Regions from separate parts of the Homo sapiens genome. Here region 1 is linked to region 2. The links are contacts of gene promoters, found by promoter capture Hi-C in blood cells and fetal thymus (Javierre and others, 2016). All regions are on one chromosome and are shown on one strand. The core of a region is centred on a gene start or on the middle of the fragment in contact, and the rest is flanking DNA. Distances in the headings are between cores, read along the strand shown. Region 1 has its middle 4.8 kb from the start of DDI2. Region 2 holds the start of WRAP73 (WD repeat containing, antisense to TP73).

Region 1 (7,555 bases), core at 1,004-3,503, about 12 Mb before region 2:
TGGCTCACGCCTGTAATCCCAGCACTTTGGGAGGCCAAGGCGGGCGGATCACAAGGTCAGGAGTTCGAGACCAGCTTGGCCAATATGGTGAAACCCCGTCTCTACTAAAAATACAAAAATTAGCCGGGCATGGTGGCGGACACCTATAGTCCCAGCTACTCGGGAGGCTGAGGCAGGAGGGTCACTTGAACGCGGGAGGCGGAGGTTGTAGTGAGCCGAGATCAGGTCACTGCACTCTAGCCTGGGAGACAGAGCGAGACTCTGTCTCAAAAAAAAAAAAAAAAAAGAGAAAGTAGAGGCACAGGGGAGTGAGAATGCTTATATCCCCTAGGAGCAACAGAAAGCTTGACTATCAGTGGCTTAAACAAACAAGGGTTTGTTTTCTCACAGGAGAGAAGGCCTGGAGGTAGCAACAGCACTGGTTGAGTGGCTCACTGAAATCAGGGCCAATACTTTTGTAATTGTCTTGACCTTTTCCTGAGGGTTGCAATATATGGCTGGCTGCCTCCACTGCACGCATCATTTTCCTATTCAAGGAAAAAGCTTGCCCAGAAGTCCCTGTGCACATTTTTGCTTACATCTCACTGGACAGAATTGTGTCACATAGATGCAAGAGAGGCTAGGAACGCAAGTATTTAGCTTTGCCTAAAGGACATAAATAGGGAAAAGGGGGGCTGGGAATGGGTATTAGGAAAGATGTACACAGTGCCTTCTACAGTGAATGTTTGAAATAACCATTGCAAATTGAAGCAAGTTTAGCTGAGAAATGTTCTAGGATTGCCCAGTGGTGGTATCAAGGAATCAGTTGAGGCTTGAATCATTGATTAATTGTTATATTTGGTCTAGTGGTGCTCAGGTTCCCAGGTCTGGCAGATTTTGTTCTCCAAAGATGACCATGACAGTGCCTCCCATCGTCTATGCTCTTCCTACAACATGATTGGATAACCCTCCCATTAAGAAGTGGGGTGAATGTCCCTCCCTTTGAATCATGGCTCGGCAGACTAACTCTGGCATAAGTGACATTATGTGATTTCCTTTTTTTTTTTTTTTTTTATCAAGACAGGGTCTGGCTCTGTCACCCAGGCTGGAGTGCAGTGGCACGATCATGGCTCACTGCAGCCTCAACCTCCAGGGCTCAAGTGATCCCTCCAGCTCAACCTCCCCAGCAGCTGGAACTACAGGTGTGCACCACCACACGCAGCTAATTTCTTTTTAGTAGAGATGAGATCTTGCTATGTTGCCCAGGCTTGATTTCCTTTTTATTATGATTTTACATTATTTTTAGTTAAAAAAAATAGGGATGAGTCCTTGCTATGTTGACCAGGCTAATCTCCAAATCCTGGCCTCAAGTGATCCTCCCACCTTGGCCTCACGAAGTACTGGGATTACAGATGTGAGCCATCGCACCCAGCCACTTTGTGTGATTTTTAAGGCTAGGTCTCGCCTGTGTCCACCTGGAGCCAGCAGTTCTCACCCAGCATCCAGCAATATATGCCAGACACCAATGGAGGGGACAAAGCAATGGTGGACAGGCTCAGGCTGGGGCTGCTGCTTCTGGCACTGCTCCTACTTATGCAGATTTATTCAAATCAAACTATTGTAACGTTTTCAAGTAACTCCTCCCAGGGTACCTTGTCTGCCCCAAACCCAGCTAATGCCACCACCAAGGCAGTTGGCTGTGCCCTGCAGTCAACTGCCAGTCTCCTCATGGTCTTGCTTTCTCTTCTATATTTCTACTGTTAAGAAACATCTATACTTCCGTGTCTTCTAAACCCATTCCAAATGGCATCTAGGAGTCCAATGTGGCAAGAAAAAAAGCGGGTCTTCATCAAATCTATTAATTTCACACCTTCTTTTACTGATACAGAAAAGGTTGAGAACCTGGCCAGGTGTGGTGGCTCATGCCTGTAATCCCAACACATTGAGAGGTCGAGGCAGGTGGATCACCTGAGGTCAGGAGTTTGAGACCAGCCTGGCCAACATGGTGAAACCCCGTCTCTACTAAAAGTACAGAAAAATTACCCAGATATGGTGGTGGATGCCTGTAATCCCAGCTACTTGGGAGGCTGAGGCAGGAGAATTGGTTGAACCTGGGAGGCAGAGGTTGCAGTGAGCCGAGATTGCGCCATTGCACTCCAGCCTGGGCAACAAGAGCAAAACTCTGTCTCAAAAAAAAAAAAAAAAAAAAAAAAGGCCAGGCGCGGTAGCTCACATCTGTAATCCCAGCACTTTGGGAGGCCGAGGCAGGTGGCAGGTGGATCACAAGGTCAGGAGTTCAAGACCAGCCTGACCAACATGGTGAAACCCCGTCTCTACTAAAAATATAAAAATTAGCCAGACGTGGTGGTGTGTGCCTGTAATCCCAGCTACTCAGGAGGCTGAGGCAGGAGAATGGCTTGAACATGGGAGGCAGAGGGTGCAGTGAGCCGAGATCGCGCCATTGCACTCCAGCCTGGGCGACAGAGTGAGACTCCATCTCAAAAAAAAAAAAAAAGGAAAGAAAGAAAGAAAAGGTTGAGAACCCCAAATTTAATTGCTTTGAAGAACACGTGAAGGGTTTGACTAGATGATGGATGCCAATATTAAATCTGCTTAAATGTCATGTACAAGATGAAGAGAGGCAACATCCAAAATTGAAGACATTATTTCTTGAATGTGGCTTAAGAAATGTGGACAGTTAAAACTACCTTGAAAATAAGAATAGTAGATCCTGAGACAAAACTTGGGTAATAAAAAAAAAATAATAATAAATAATAGATTTTATCTTGTTTAGAAATAAAGATGTAATATGGAGTGGAGATTCAGTTTTCATTTGGTTCATTAAGTCTATACGGCAGTAAAACCAGTAAAATAAAAGATTTCCATTGGCAGGGGTGGGGGTGGCTCATACCTGTAATCCTAGCACTTTGGGAGGCCACAGCAGGAGGATCGATTGAGCCCAGGAGTTTGAAATCACCCTGGGCAACAGGGTGAGACCCCATCTCTACAAAAAAAAATTTATTTTAATTTAATTAATTTATTTATTTATTGAGATGGAGTCTTGTTCTGTTGCCCAGGCTGGAGTGCAGTGGTGCGAGCTCAGCTCACTGCAACCTCCACTTCCCTGGCTCGTGATTCTCCTGCCTGAGCCTCCCAAGTTGCTGGGATTACAGGCCTGCACCACCATGCCCCGCTAATTTTTATTTTTTGTTTTTCCTTTCTGAGACACAGTCTCGCTCTGCCATCCAGGCTGGAGTGCAGTGGTGCGATCTCAGCTCACTGCAACCTCTGCCTCGCAGGTTCAAGTGATTCTTGTGCCTCAGCCTCCTGAGTAGCTGGGATTACAGGCACCCACCACCATACCTGGCTAATTTTTGTATTTTTAGTGGAGACAGGGTTTCACCATGTAGGCCAGGCGGGTCGCAAACTCCTGACCTCAGGTGATCTACCCACTGGGCCCCCCAAAGTGCTGGGATTACGGGCATGAGCCACTGCACCTGGCCATAATCTCCTTTTTTTTTTTTGAGGCAGCGTTTCACTCTTGTCCCCCAGGCTGGAGTGCCATGGCACGATCCCAGCTCACTGCAATCTCCACCTCCCGGGTTCAAGCCATTCTCCTTCTTTAGCCTCCTGAGTAGCTGGGACTACAGGAGCATGCCACCATGCCCAGCTAATATTTGTATTTTTAGTAGAGATGGGGTTTCACCATGTTGGCCAGGCTGGTCTCAAACTCCTGACCTCAGGCGATCCAGCTCTCTCGTCCTCCCAAAGTGCTGGGATTACAGGTGTGAGCCACCGTGTCTGGCCCACAAATTTAAAAAAAGAGGTGGGCATGGTGTCACACACTTGTGGTCACAGCTACCCAAGAGACTGAGGTAGGATGATCACTTCAGCCCTGGAGGTCAAGGCTGCAGTAAGCCATTATCATGGCACTCCAGCCTGGGTGACAGAGCAAGATCCTGTCTTAAAGTTTAAAAAAGCTTCCATCGGCTGGGTGCAGTGGCTCACACCTGTAATCCCAGCACTTTGGGAGACCAAGGCGGGTGGATCACAAGGTCAGGAGTTCAAGACCAGCCTGGCCAAGATGGTGAAACCCCATCTCTACTAAAAATACAAAAAATTAGCTGGGCACGGTGGCAAGTGTCTGTAATTACAGCTACTCGGGAGGCTGAGGCAGGAGAATCGTGTGAACTCGGAGGGTGGAGGCTGCAGTGAGCTGAGACCGCACCACTGCACTCCAGCCTGGAAGACAGAGTGAGACTCCGTCTCAAAAAAAAAAAAAAAAGCTTCCATCATTCTATAAATCCTCAATGTATTATTTCAGCAGTACTAATTTAATGCCAATATATTAAGTTTTACATTGTTAGGCTATCACTGTTCTTTTGGTAACTGAATTCTTTTTCCTCTGAGGATTTGGATTTGACATTGCATTTGACCTTTTATTTAGTAATTGACATGTGCCAGGGCAATGATAGACTGCAATCTACCCCCAAGTCCAAGCATCATCAATAACTCTTGTTTATCCTTAGAGAGTCAAATGGTAGGCATTTCATTTCACCTATTTTCGTTCAACAAGGACACCAGATTCATTAAGGGGCTGGGTGCGGTGGCTCACCCCTGTAATCCCAGCACTTTGGGAGGCTGAGGCAGGTGGATCACTTGAGGTCAGGAGTTCGAGACCAGCCTGACCAACAAGATTAAACCCTGTCTCTACTAAAAATACAAAAATTAGCTGGGCATGGTGGTGTGCCTGTAATCCCAGCTACTCAGAGGCTGAGATAGGAGAATTGCTTGAACCTTAGAGCCAGAGGTTGCAGTGAGCCAAGATCATGCTACTGCTGTCCAGCCTGGGAGACACAGTGAGACTCCATCTCAAAAAACAAAAAAAGATCTGTTTTGAAGGTAAAATTATAAACCTTGAAATTAAAAGGGCAAAAATGTAAAGGAGCCAAAAACTGTATATCAAGTATTTGGAAAGTAAAGACTGAAAGTTAACTTGCATTAAAGTCACAAAAACTTTTATACTCTTTTCTTTTTCTTTCTTTCTTTTTTTTTTTTTTGAGATGGAGTTTCACTCTTGTTGCCCAGGCTGGAGTGCAATGGCATGATCTTGGCTCACCGCAACCTCCGCCTCCCAGGTTCAAGCGATTCTCCTGCCTCAGCCTCCTGAGTAGCTGGGATTACAGGCACGCACCACCACGCTCGGCTAATTTTGTATTTTTAGTAGAGATGGAGTTTCTCCATGTTGGTCAGGCTGGTCTTAAACTCCTGACCTCAGGTGATCTGCCCGCCTCAGCCTCCCAAAGTGCTGGGATTACAGGCCTGAGCCACCGTGCCCAGGCTATACTCTTTTTCTGTAAATGCTTTTTGCAAACAACAACTATGGATCAGAATAGCTGCATTTAAAACACATTTTGGGGCTTTTTTTTTTTTGAGACAGAGTCTTACTCTGTCGCCCAGGCTGGAGTGCAATGGAGCGATCTTGGCTCACTGCAACCTCCGCCTCCCAGGTTCAAGTGATTCTCCTGCCTCAGCCTCCCGAGTAGCTAGGATTACAGGTGCACAACACCACACCTCGCTAATTTTTGTATTTTTTGTAGAGACGGCATTTCACCATGTTGGCCAGGATGGTCTTGAACTCCTGACCTCGTGATCTGCCCACCTCAGCCTCCCAAAGTGCTGGGATTACAGGCGTGAGCCACCGCACCCAGCTGGGGCCTTTTTTTTTAAGAGACATGGTCTCACCCTGTTACCCAGGCTAGAGTTCACTGCGGCCTCAACCTCGTGGACTAAAGCAATCCTCCTGCCTCAGCCTCCCAAGTAGCTAGCACTACATGCGTGTGCCACCATTCCCAGCGAATTTTTATCTTTTTGTAGAAATAGGAGTCTTTCTATGTTCCCAAGCTGTTCTTGAACTCCTAGGCTCAAGCAATCCTCTTACCTCATCTCCTAACGTGCTGGGATTACAGACATGAGCCATCATGCCCTGTTTGAAACACATTTTGTTATGTCAATATTTTTAGATAGTTAGAACCTGGTCCTAAACCGCAAAGTAAGCTTGATTCTGTAATAAAAATGTTTACAACTGTCTTGACACACAGAAACCTTTTTAAAAATAGACACTCCCTGAAGTCCTTTGTTCACAAGGTCACACACTGATGCTTATGTGTTCCAGCATCTAATATGGCCACAGTAGTCTTTTTTTTTCCATCTTTAGAAACCTACACGGGAACAGCAGATGGAACAGATCTGAACCCACTCCACTGTGTGTGTGAATGAACACTCCCTTTTGCTCCATGCCGAAATGCTGTACATCTATTTTGGATTGTATATTTGTGTGTGTATGCTTTGATTCATAGTAACTTGTTATGAAATTGATTTGTATTGAATACAAACTGCAAATAAAAATAAATCAATGGCTGAAAAAAAGTCAGTACAGCTTCTCCGTGATTCTCTTGGAACGCTTGCTCTTGGAACCCAGCAGCCATGCTGTGAGGAAGCCCAAACTACACCACACGGTGAGACCGCATGGAGAAAATACGTGTGGTTGTTCCAGAAAGCTGCTCAGCTGAGGGGAAAGCTGATTAGCGGGAAAACTCACCAAGCACAGAAGTGAAGACACTTTCAGATGACTTCAACCCCCAGATGTTGAATCATCTCCAACTTATGAGTCTTTCCAGATGAGGCTTCAGACATTATGGAGCCGTCTCCACTGTATTGCCTTTGAATTTCTGACCTACAGAAACTATAAGCATAATAAAATAAAAATACAAAGTAAAACCAAAATGAGATACCACTTTATGCTCACTAGGATGGCTATAATAAAAAAGACAGAGTTGGGCGTGGTGGCTCATACCTGTAATCCCAGCACTTTGGGAGGCCAAGGCAGGCAAATCACTTGAAGCCAGGAGTTCGAGAGCAGTCTGGCCAACACGGTGAAACCCCATCTCTACTAAAAATATAAAAATTAGGCCGGATGCGGTGGCTCATGTCTGTAATCCCAGCACTTTGGGAAGCAGAGGAGGGCGAATCCCGAGGTCAGGAGTTCGAGACCAGCCTGACTAACATGGTGAAACCCCGTCTCTACTAAAAATATAAAAATTAGCTGGGCATGATGGTGTGTGCCTGTAATCCCAGCTACTTGGGAGGCTGAGGCAGGAGAATTGCTTGAACCCAAGAGGTGGATGTTGCAGTGAGCCGAGATCGTGCCATTGCACTCCAGCCTGGGTGACAGAGTGAGACTCCATCTCAAAAAAATGAAAATAAAAAAATAAAAATTAGCCGGCTATAGTGACATGCGCCTATAACTCCAGCTATTCTGGAGGCTGAGGCAGGATAATTGCTTGAACCCTGGAGGTGGAGGTTGCAGCGTGCCGAGAATGTGCCACTGCACTCCAGCCTGGGGGACAGAGGGAGACTCTGTCCAAAAAGATACTCAAAAAAAAAAAAAAAAAAAAAAGGCAGATGATAACAAGTGGTGATGAGGATGTGGAGAAATAGGAACCCCTAATAGACTGCTGGCGGGAATGTAAAATGGTGCAGCCACTTTGGAAAAAAGTTTGACAGTTCCTCAAAA
Region 2 (7,618 bases), core at 4,396-6,895:
CAAGTGTGTTTTGTGTATTTGTTAAAGGAATCTGGGCAGAACATGGAAGTATTAAATACTGGTAGGAGTAAGTGATCACTCAGCCTACTTACTGGTGATAAAACATTACATTTAGAAAACTTTCACCACATTCAGATACAAATAACACGGGAATTCAAAAGAAAAGTAGGCGTTATTGTCATTTAGTAACTCATCTCAGCTTTTTTCTTTTTTGCTTTTAAAGCAAAATCACGAGGAAATAACATACAGATATCTTAAAAGGTTGCCTTAGCCCTCCCCACACTGGAAAACAAAGGCAAGCCGCAAAATGGCAGCTCGTTACATGAAACACACACCAAAAGTATTTTTTGCGTGTTTTTTTGAGACAGAGTCTCGCTCTGTTGCCCGGGCTGGAGTGCAGTGGGGTGATCTCGGCTCACTGCAACCTCTGCCTCCCAAGTTCAAGCGATTCTCCTGCCTCAGCCTCCTGAGTAGCTGAGACTACAGGCACCAGACACCACCCCCGGCTAATTTTTGTATTTTTGGTGGGGACAAGATTTCACCATTTTGCCCAGGCTGGTCTTGAACTCCTGATCTCAAGTGATCCACCCACCTCGGCCTCCCAAAGGGCTGAGATTACAGGCGTGGGCCACGGCGCCTGGCCTTAAAGGATGTTTTGAAGACTTTTTCTGACTTTTTGCAAACACAGGGTTCACCGTGTACGCGATGTCACTTTGGTGTGCTCGGAATCTCAGGGTTAATACCGCCGCTGGGCAAGGGCAGGGCCTCGTCCGGGTTCTGGAGTGGGTGTGCGGCTCCTCTCTCGGCCCTCAGCCTCTTCTCTTCTCTCCACTTTAGCCGTGCCTTTCACACGTGCTCAGTGTTATCAATCCATTCTTGGACCTGGGTGGGGCATGCCCTATAAATAAATACTAAACCAGGCATCCTTGCCCCAGTGCATACTTCTGACAGATGCCATCAGCTTCCACCCACGCCTTGGGCAGATGCCTGCCTCACTGCCATCCCTCCTGCCCTGGAGATACCTACCAGATACTAAGGAGCCGGGTCTCTCCCCAGGGCTCCTGGCTCTCCCAGCTCTGGAACAGCACCTGGGACCCGAAGCCATCATGTGTGAGGACACTGAGTGGGTGCCAGGCACTCTCCCAAGCCCTTCGGACGGCACCTCACTGACTGTTCTCCAAGCCTCTGAGGCAGGAACTACTATTACCCGACTCTGCAGATGGGTAACCTGAGGCTCCAAGTGGTTAAGTGACTTGCTGGAGTAAATGGGGAAGAGGAGATTTGAACCCCAGCATTCTGACTTCCATACTACCCCATTAACCACTGTGCCAGACCAGCTTCTCCATGCGACTGGCCTTCGGGATTTGGAGACAGCTACTGTTCGCTGTAGCTTTCACGAGAAGGACTGCAAGGCAGGGCTCACATCCCGAGCCATTCTCTGGTGGCCGCCGCGCATAGACAAGCCCCGCTCAGGTCCGCCTTCCGTTCACCCCAGGCTACCTCTGATTGACAATAGGCAGCTGCCACACTGCAGCCTCTGACACCAACTTTTATCTTATTTCATCTTATTTTTTGAGACAGAGTCTTGCTCTGTTGCCCAGGCTGGAGTGCAGTGGCATGATATCAGCTCGCTGCAACCTCTCCATCCCAGGTTCAAGCAATTCTTGTGCCTCAGCCTCCCGAGTAGCTGGGAGTACAGGTGCCTGCCACCATGCCCAGCTAATTTTTGTATTTCAAGTAGAGACTGGGTTTCACCATGATGGCCAGGCTGGTCTCGAACTCCTGACCTCAGGTGATCCACCCACCTTGGCCTCCCAAAGGCTGTGAGGGATGACAGGCGTGAGCTACCGTGCCCAGCCAACTTTTTATCTTATTTTAAAAACTACATACGTAATGCATACATTCATATATGGCAACATTTCAAACACCGTGTCCTGTTCTTAATGAAATGCTTTTTAATCTTTCCCCGAATAAATCCAAAGAGGGGTGGCTCAGCGCTCAGTAAGTGCCAGAGGCCACGCGCTTTGTTTACTCCTCCCCCAGAGCTAAGGCTGAACAAATAAACAGCAATGACAGCAACAAAAAACAAAACAACAAAAACCAAAGCATTGTGTTAATGAGCCTGAGCCATTTCCAAATGTCCAGACAGTGAATAAACAGATGGCAGCATCTTTGGAAGCAAATGACCTCTGGTCAGAAGTTTGGGGTGCATTGCTTTTCCCTGCACCCTTGCTGGTTGAAGATCGTCTATCTGTCCCCTGTTTATGTAGCAGACGTGTGCATACTACATGGGCTTATCTCCTAGCGTCCAGGCCAAAATACAAGCTGAGCAAAGGTAATCATCGCTCCCCAAGTCCAAGCCCCGGGAAAGGCAGGGGCTGCAGGAGGAGGCGGCCCAGGAGCTAAGGGGGCGTGAGGTGTCTCCCTCCAGGCCGGCCCGGGCCATTTCTTCACGGGCTTTCTCTACCTGGGACCGCTCCGGAGACAGGCCAGGAGCCCTCGACAGACAAACTCAGAGCCACAGGGAGCTGTCCCTCGGGAAACCATCGAAACCGCTTAGTAACCAACTCCATGGGTCAAGGCCCCCGCCCAGATCCTTCTCCCTGTCCAGAGGGGGGCCTGGCCCTGGCTCCTCAGGGAAGCTGAGGCCTCGGGATTGGCACAGCCCTGCAGGTCGGAGGGAGCGCGCGGGCGGGGAGGAGCTTGCTGGCGATTTCCACCTGCACCCGCGCCCCGCACCCCGGCCTCTTCCCGGGGTTACCCTCCCAACGGCCCTCGGAGCCCGGGGTGGAGAGGGGACAGCAGGAGGAGGGCCCTCCCGGAACCCCTGCGGGGCTGTCTTTGGCGCCAAAGGCGGCCGGCGCTGAGGGCAGGACCCGCGTCTCCTCGCAGGCTAGACTCTGGCCGCTCCAGCCTCTCGCGAGCGCCAAGTCCCAGGGGCCGATCCAACTCCGAGGGAGCCCCTGTGTCGCCTTGTCCCAGCTCGTCCCCGATCGCTCTCCCCTCACCTCCCAGCTTCGGAGCTGCGAGCCCAGGTGCCTGCCCAGCGCTGCGCTCCAGCCCCCGCCCGCGGAGCCGAACCGCCCCCCGGCCCTGGGCCTCCTACCTGCAGCCGTCGCAGCCCCGGGCATCGGCGTCCGTCCCGGCTGGCCTGGCGCGGGCCCCGGTTTCGCTGCGTCCCCTTCGCGGGCGCGCGAGCCTCCGGGCGGGTGCGCGGGCGGGGAGGCAGGGCGGGCTGCCCGGCCCCTAGGCGGGTTATATGGGCGCGGGGAGGGGAGGCGCCGCGGGGAGTAGGCGGCCGCGGGCGTTAGCGCCTTTTTAGCCCGGCGCGCGGGAAGGCAGCGCGGGCCACCGAGTCGCGGCGGGGCCAAGGTCTCCTCCCGGCGCTCCGCCTCTCCAGCTGGCCGCGTCCAAGTCGGGGTCCCGGGCGCGCTCTGCCCCGCCTCCTTCCCGCCGCCTTTTGGCGCGCGTCGCTCCTGCAGAGCCCGGCGAGGCCGCCCACGCAGGGCCGAAGCAGGTCCGGCGCCAGGGCCCCTCCCGCGGGCCAGACCCGACCGCGATCTTCGGCAGAGCTGGGGACGCCGGTGCCGACTCTGTGCCCGACGCCTGCGTTTCCCCCGGACTCCCTGCTGTCCCCCAGACGGCCCATCTTTCCTGACACCCGGGTCTCTCCTGGCCGCCGCCACTAGCGCTGGGCTCCTCGGCGCGCGGGGCGCTTGGAATCCAAGGGGCAGGGGATGTGGCCGGCGGGGAACAGGGGTGAGGGGCGGGGAACAGGGGTGAGGGGCGCCGCCCCAGGCCCAGGAGGAGGGGAACGGCTGCTTTCCGCCAAGCAGGGCTTGCCACCCACTTCTCCTGTGGAGCCACGGTCCCGCCCGGCAGAGGATCCCGCGGAGAGCCTCTGGGGGCTGCTCTCCCAACCCCAGCCGGAGTTTGGGCCCCACGTCCTTCCAGGGGTCACCCAGGACGCGAACACTCCCGGGCGGCGGCCAGCACCCTGCTCCCTCCCCCGGCCGCCGCCTGTGGGCTCGGGCTCTGGATCCCGTTCGGTGTTTGGAAGGAGCTCGCGGGCGTCGGTGCGCTTGGAGTTGTTCTCTGCGCGCACCAGACCTGCGCTAGGTCAGGCCGAAGCTCTCTACCGGCCAGCGACACCCGCCGCCCCGCCCGCCTGCTCCTCCTAGGCCATCGGGGCTTCCAGGGCCCTCGACCACGTACACCAGGCCCTGGCTAGGGGACCCGACATGCTGGGCGAGTTCCGAGCGGCTCTCAGTGGCGGCGCTGCTTATGGTCTGATGCTTATGGGGCCCGTGATCTGGCTCCGAACCGATGTCCTCTGCCCATGGTGACCCCCACGTCTTGGAAAGTCGCGTCAGTGAAGCCCGTGGCTTCGCGAGCGAGCCGGGCTGGCGCAGACTGGGTTCTCTGGCCGCAGCGGGTCCGCGCCTGACGGGGAGGGTCCGGCTGACTCGCACATCTTCATGGCTCACCCACTGTTTGCTGGGCGCACGGGGTGGGGACCCAAAGACGAATCCCATGCAGAGGTTTGGGTCTAGTTTTGGCAACAGAAAAGGCCGGCACCGCCGGAGTAGGACGCGCGCGCACCACCATCCATTCGGCCGGGGAGGTTGGGGCGTCCGCGGGGAGCAGACCCGAGGCTGGGCGCCCGGAGGTACGAGCAGGACCCTGGCCGGCTCTCAGCTCCCAGAACCCAGGGCCAGGCGGGGATGTCAGGGTCTGCGCGATCTGGGGGGCCCTAGAGGCGCCGGCGGGGCCTGGCGCGGACTACTAGCGGCCTGCGGGAGCCAGGGGTGGAGGGGGCCGCTGTCTAGGGAAGAGGACCGGGGTCCGGAGTGGGGGTGAGAACGAGGCACGCCCCTGAGCCTGCGAAACCTGCGGACCGAGCGCCCGCGCAGGAGCTCGCTCCCTCTGGGCCCCCAGGTCCCAGACCCGCACGATTCTTCGCCCGGTGCCAGCCCAGATGCGCGCGGGTGATGAACGGGCGGTGGCCGCGATCCACGCGCTCGCTCTGCCCAGTCAGCGGCAAATTCGTTCTCTCCTTGATCTCAGTGGCACTGGAGCGTGAGGCAAGGGCCAGGCGGCAGGTAGAGGGGTCGGACTCAGCAAAAGCAAACAAAACCCCAAGCAAACGAAATAAATACTTATACATTACATACACGATATAATATATGTGCGACAGACACCGTATTACTTATTAAAGATATATTTGTAGGTAAACATATATTTACATGTAAACATACATTTACATATAAATATAAATATATATATATGCATGTGTACACACACGCAGACACACAGGTCGCTCAATTAAATTTGAATTTCAGACTAGCGAGTAATTTTTCCGTATTAGCATGTCCCGTGCAATATTTGGGAACATACTTATAACTAGATTTGTTGTGAATCTGAAATTCAAATTTTACTGTGCTTTCTACATTTTTATCAGCAGCCCTAGCTGGAGGTGCTCAAAGGCCTCCCGGCCTTTGAGGTAAGGTTCTCGGGTCGGAAATCCCTGGTCGGAAGAAACGTGGGCGTTTCCTTTAAAGCCCTGCGGCACAAGAACTACAAGCCCCACAATGCCGCGCGGAAGCCGGCGGCGCTGATAGGCTGCAGTTCACTTCCGCCTTCTGACTTCCGGCCTCGGAGGCCGGCGTCGGCTGTTGCAGCCTGCTGCGCGCCCAGGGGTCCCGCGGGTTTTCGGGCGCAGGGTGGCGCCCGCGGCAGGCGGCGGCCATGAACTTCTCCGAGGTATTCAAGCTCTCCAGCTTACTCTGCAAGTTCTCCCCGGACGGCAAGTACCTGGTGAGCGGCGGGGACCTGGGCCACGGGCAGGACATCCTCGGTGCCAGCGTCCCCGGCGGGCAGGGCCGGGGGCGGCCGCGTGGGTGGAGGCAGCTTGGGGATCCTGCAGGTGCGGTGCCCGGACAGGTGCGGGGCCCGGGCAGGTACCCGGGGCAGGTGCAGTGTCTGAGCAAGTGCCCCAGACAGGTGCGGGACCCAGGAAGATACCCTAGACAGGTGGAGGGCCCGGGGAGGTGCCCCAAGCAGGTGCGGGGCCCAGGCAGGTACCCCAAGCAGGTGCGGGGCCCAGGCAGGTACCCCAAGCAGATATGGGGGCCGGACAGGTGCAGGACCCCGGCAGGTGCCCGGGCAGGTGCGGGACCCAGGAAGATACCGTAGACAGGTGGGGGGTCTGGGGAGGTGCCCTTGGAAAGGTGGGTATCGGCAGTGCCGACTGCACACAGGTGAGGGTATAGGAGATGTCGGCTCTTTGTTGTTACTTTGTCACAAAAGGCAAATTGATGATTCTGTTGCCTGTAAACTGGTAAGTGGTGTGGCTACTTTGTCATCTCTACTTCTCCTCTAATTCTCTTCTCCTCTACCACATGCCGAATAAATGATTTAAATACTAGTATTCTATCCCCAGGTAAGGAAGTAGTTGTCCTCATGGCTGGGATTTGAGGTCTTCGTTCCATGGGTGGCAGAAGGGTGCTTAAATCACAGAGCTATAACTTTAAGCTTCAAAACATATAGTGTATGTACCTGGATGCCTAGTAGTGTATATCCTCAGAAGAGAGGGATAACCCGGATGCCTAGTATGTATGTCCTCAGAAGAGGGGGACAATTGGCATTGGAAAGCCACTAAGAAGAAACATGCCTCGTAAAAAGTGGGCTTCGTTTTCCTTATCCACCACCTGTACTAACTGACTGATGTATCATGATGCTTTTTCAGGTTTTGCCACTCCTGACATTCCTGTGCTCTGTCTAGCTTTTGAGAGTTTAACTCTCAAATTACGTTTTTTACCTCTTCAGGGAGGTTTTATTCCAAATCACATAAAATAGCATCAGCTACAAAACAGAAAACCTCATTAGTTTAAATGGCATCTCAGCCTTGGTATATTTTCAATGTGCCCCCCTCCTCAATTAAATGAGAGGTTTGTTTTTTGTTTTTACCATTTATGAAAATTTCAGTGAATTATAAGGAGAAAGATTACATCTGCTTGCTTAACTTGGGTGTTTTTTTCCAGCTTGTACACTCTGGTCAAAATACCCTGAAACACTTGGTAATGATCTGTTACTGGAATCATCTTCTTGAAAGCCCTGAGGACTGGGGAGAGCAGGTCCATGTTTCTAGTTTTCATATCTTGCAGTAGAGTTTATGTGGTTCCTCAAGGTGTTGGTAAAAATATTCCATTTCATAAGGAATTCACTGTAACTGATCACAGTTTTCAAAGCTACAGTGTGAGAAAGTAAGTGCTGTGGTAGCTCCTTGTTCCAATCTGCCGTCACCCGCCTGTCTCTCTTTTCTCCCACGGAAAACTAACGTGGCTTTCTTTTTTGATATCGGTTCATAAAACACAAACTACTTTGACCTTGATAAGTAAAACTAACGAAGCAGTTAATATTTAAACATCAGTTCTTGATCTTGAAACTGTAGTAAAATATACATTCAGCAGGTGAGTACTCAGGCGTTATTTTTACTTGAAATTGTTTGCTTGGATAGGGACATAATGAACAAATATGGACAAGAAGAAACTATCTTTAAGAAAATAGTACTAACACTTAAACATTTCCCGTTTCGTGTTAGGAATAGGTTAATGGA

Evidence for each region. The method cuts DNA at HindIII sites, captures the fragments that hold promoters and counts their contacts. A CHiCAGO score of 5 or more calls a contact.
Region 1: a contact is called between a fragment that was not itself captured here and the fragment with the promoter of WRAP73 in region 2, in 1 of 17 cell types (neutrophils). The highest score is 5.5, in neutrophils.

The regions. Positions count from the first base shown.
Region 1 is chr1:15,608,831-15,616,385 of GRCh38, reverse strand. It overlaps the pseudogene CD24P1. Among named protein-coding and RNA genes, the nearest start is that of DDI2, 4.8 kb to the left of the region's middle. The HindIII fragment of the contact is 3,416 bases long and covers 546-3,961 here.
Region 2 is chr1:3,648,130-3,655,747 of GRCh38, reverse strand. WRAP73 (WD repeat containing, antisense to TP73) reads left to right here and starts at 5,645. Exons shown (of 12, transcript NM_017818.4): 1 at 5,645-5,817. The coding sequence starts at 5,749. It overlaps TP73 (tumor protein p73), which reads right to left and starts at 3,232. Exons shown (of 14, transcript NM_005427.4): 1 at 3,107-3,232. RefSeq lists a silencer at 2,672-3,621 and an enhancer at 4,581-5,424. The HindIII fragment of the contact is 11,564 bases long and covers 1-6,536 here.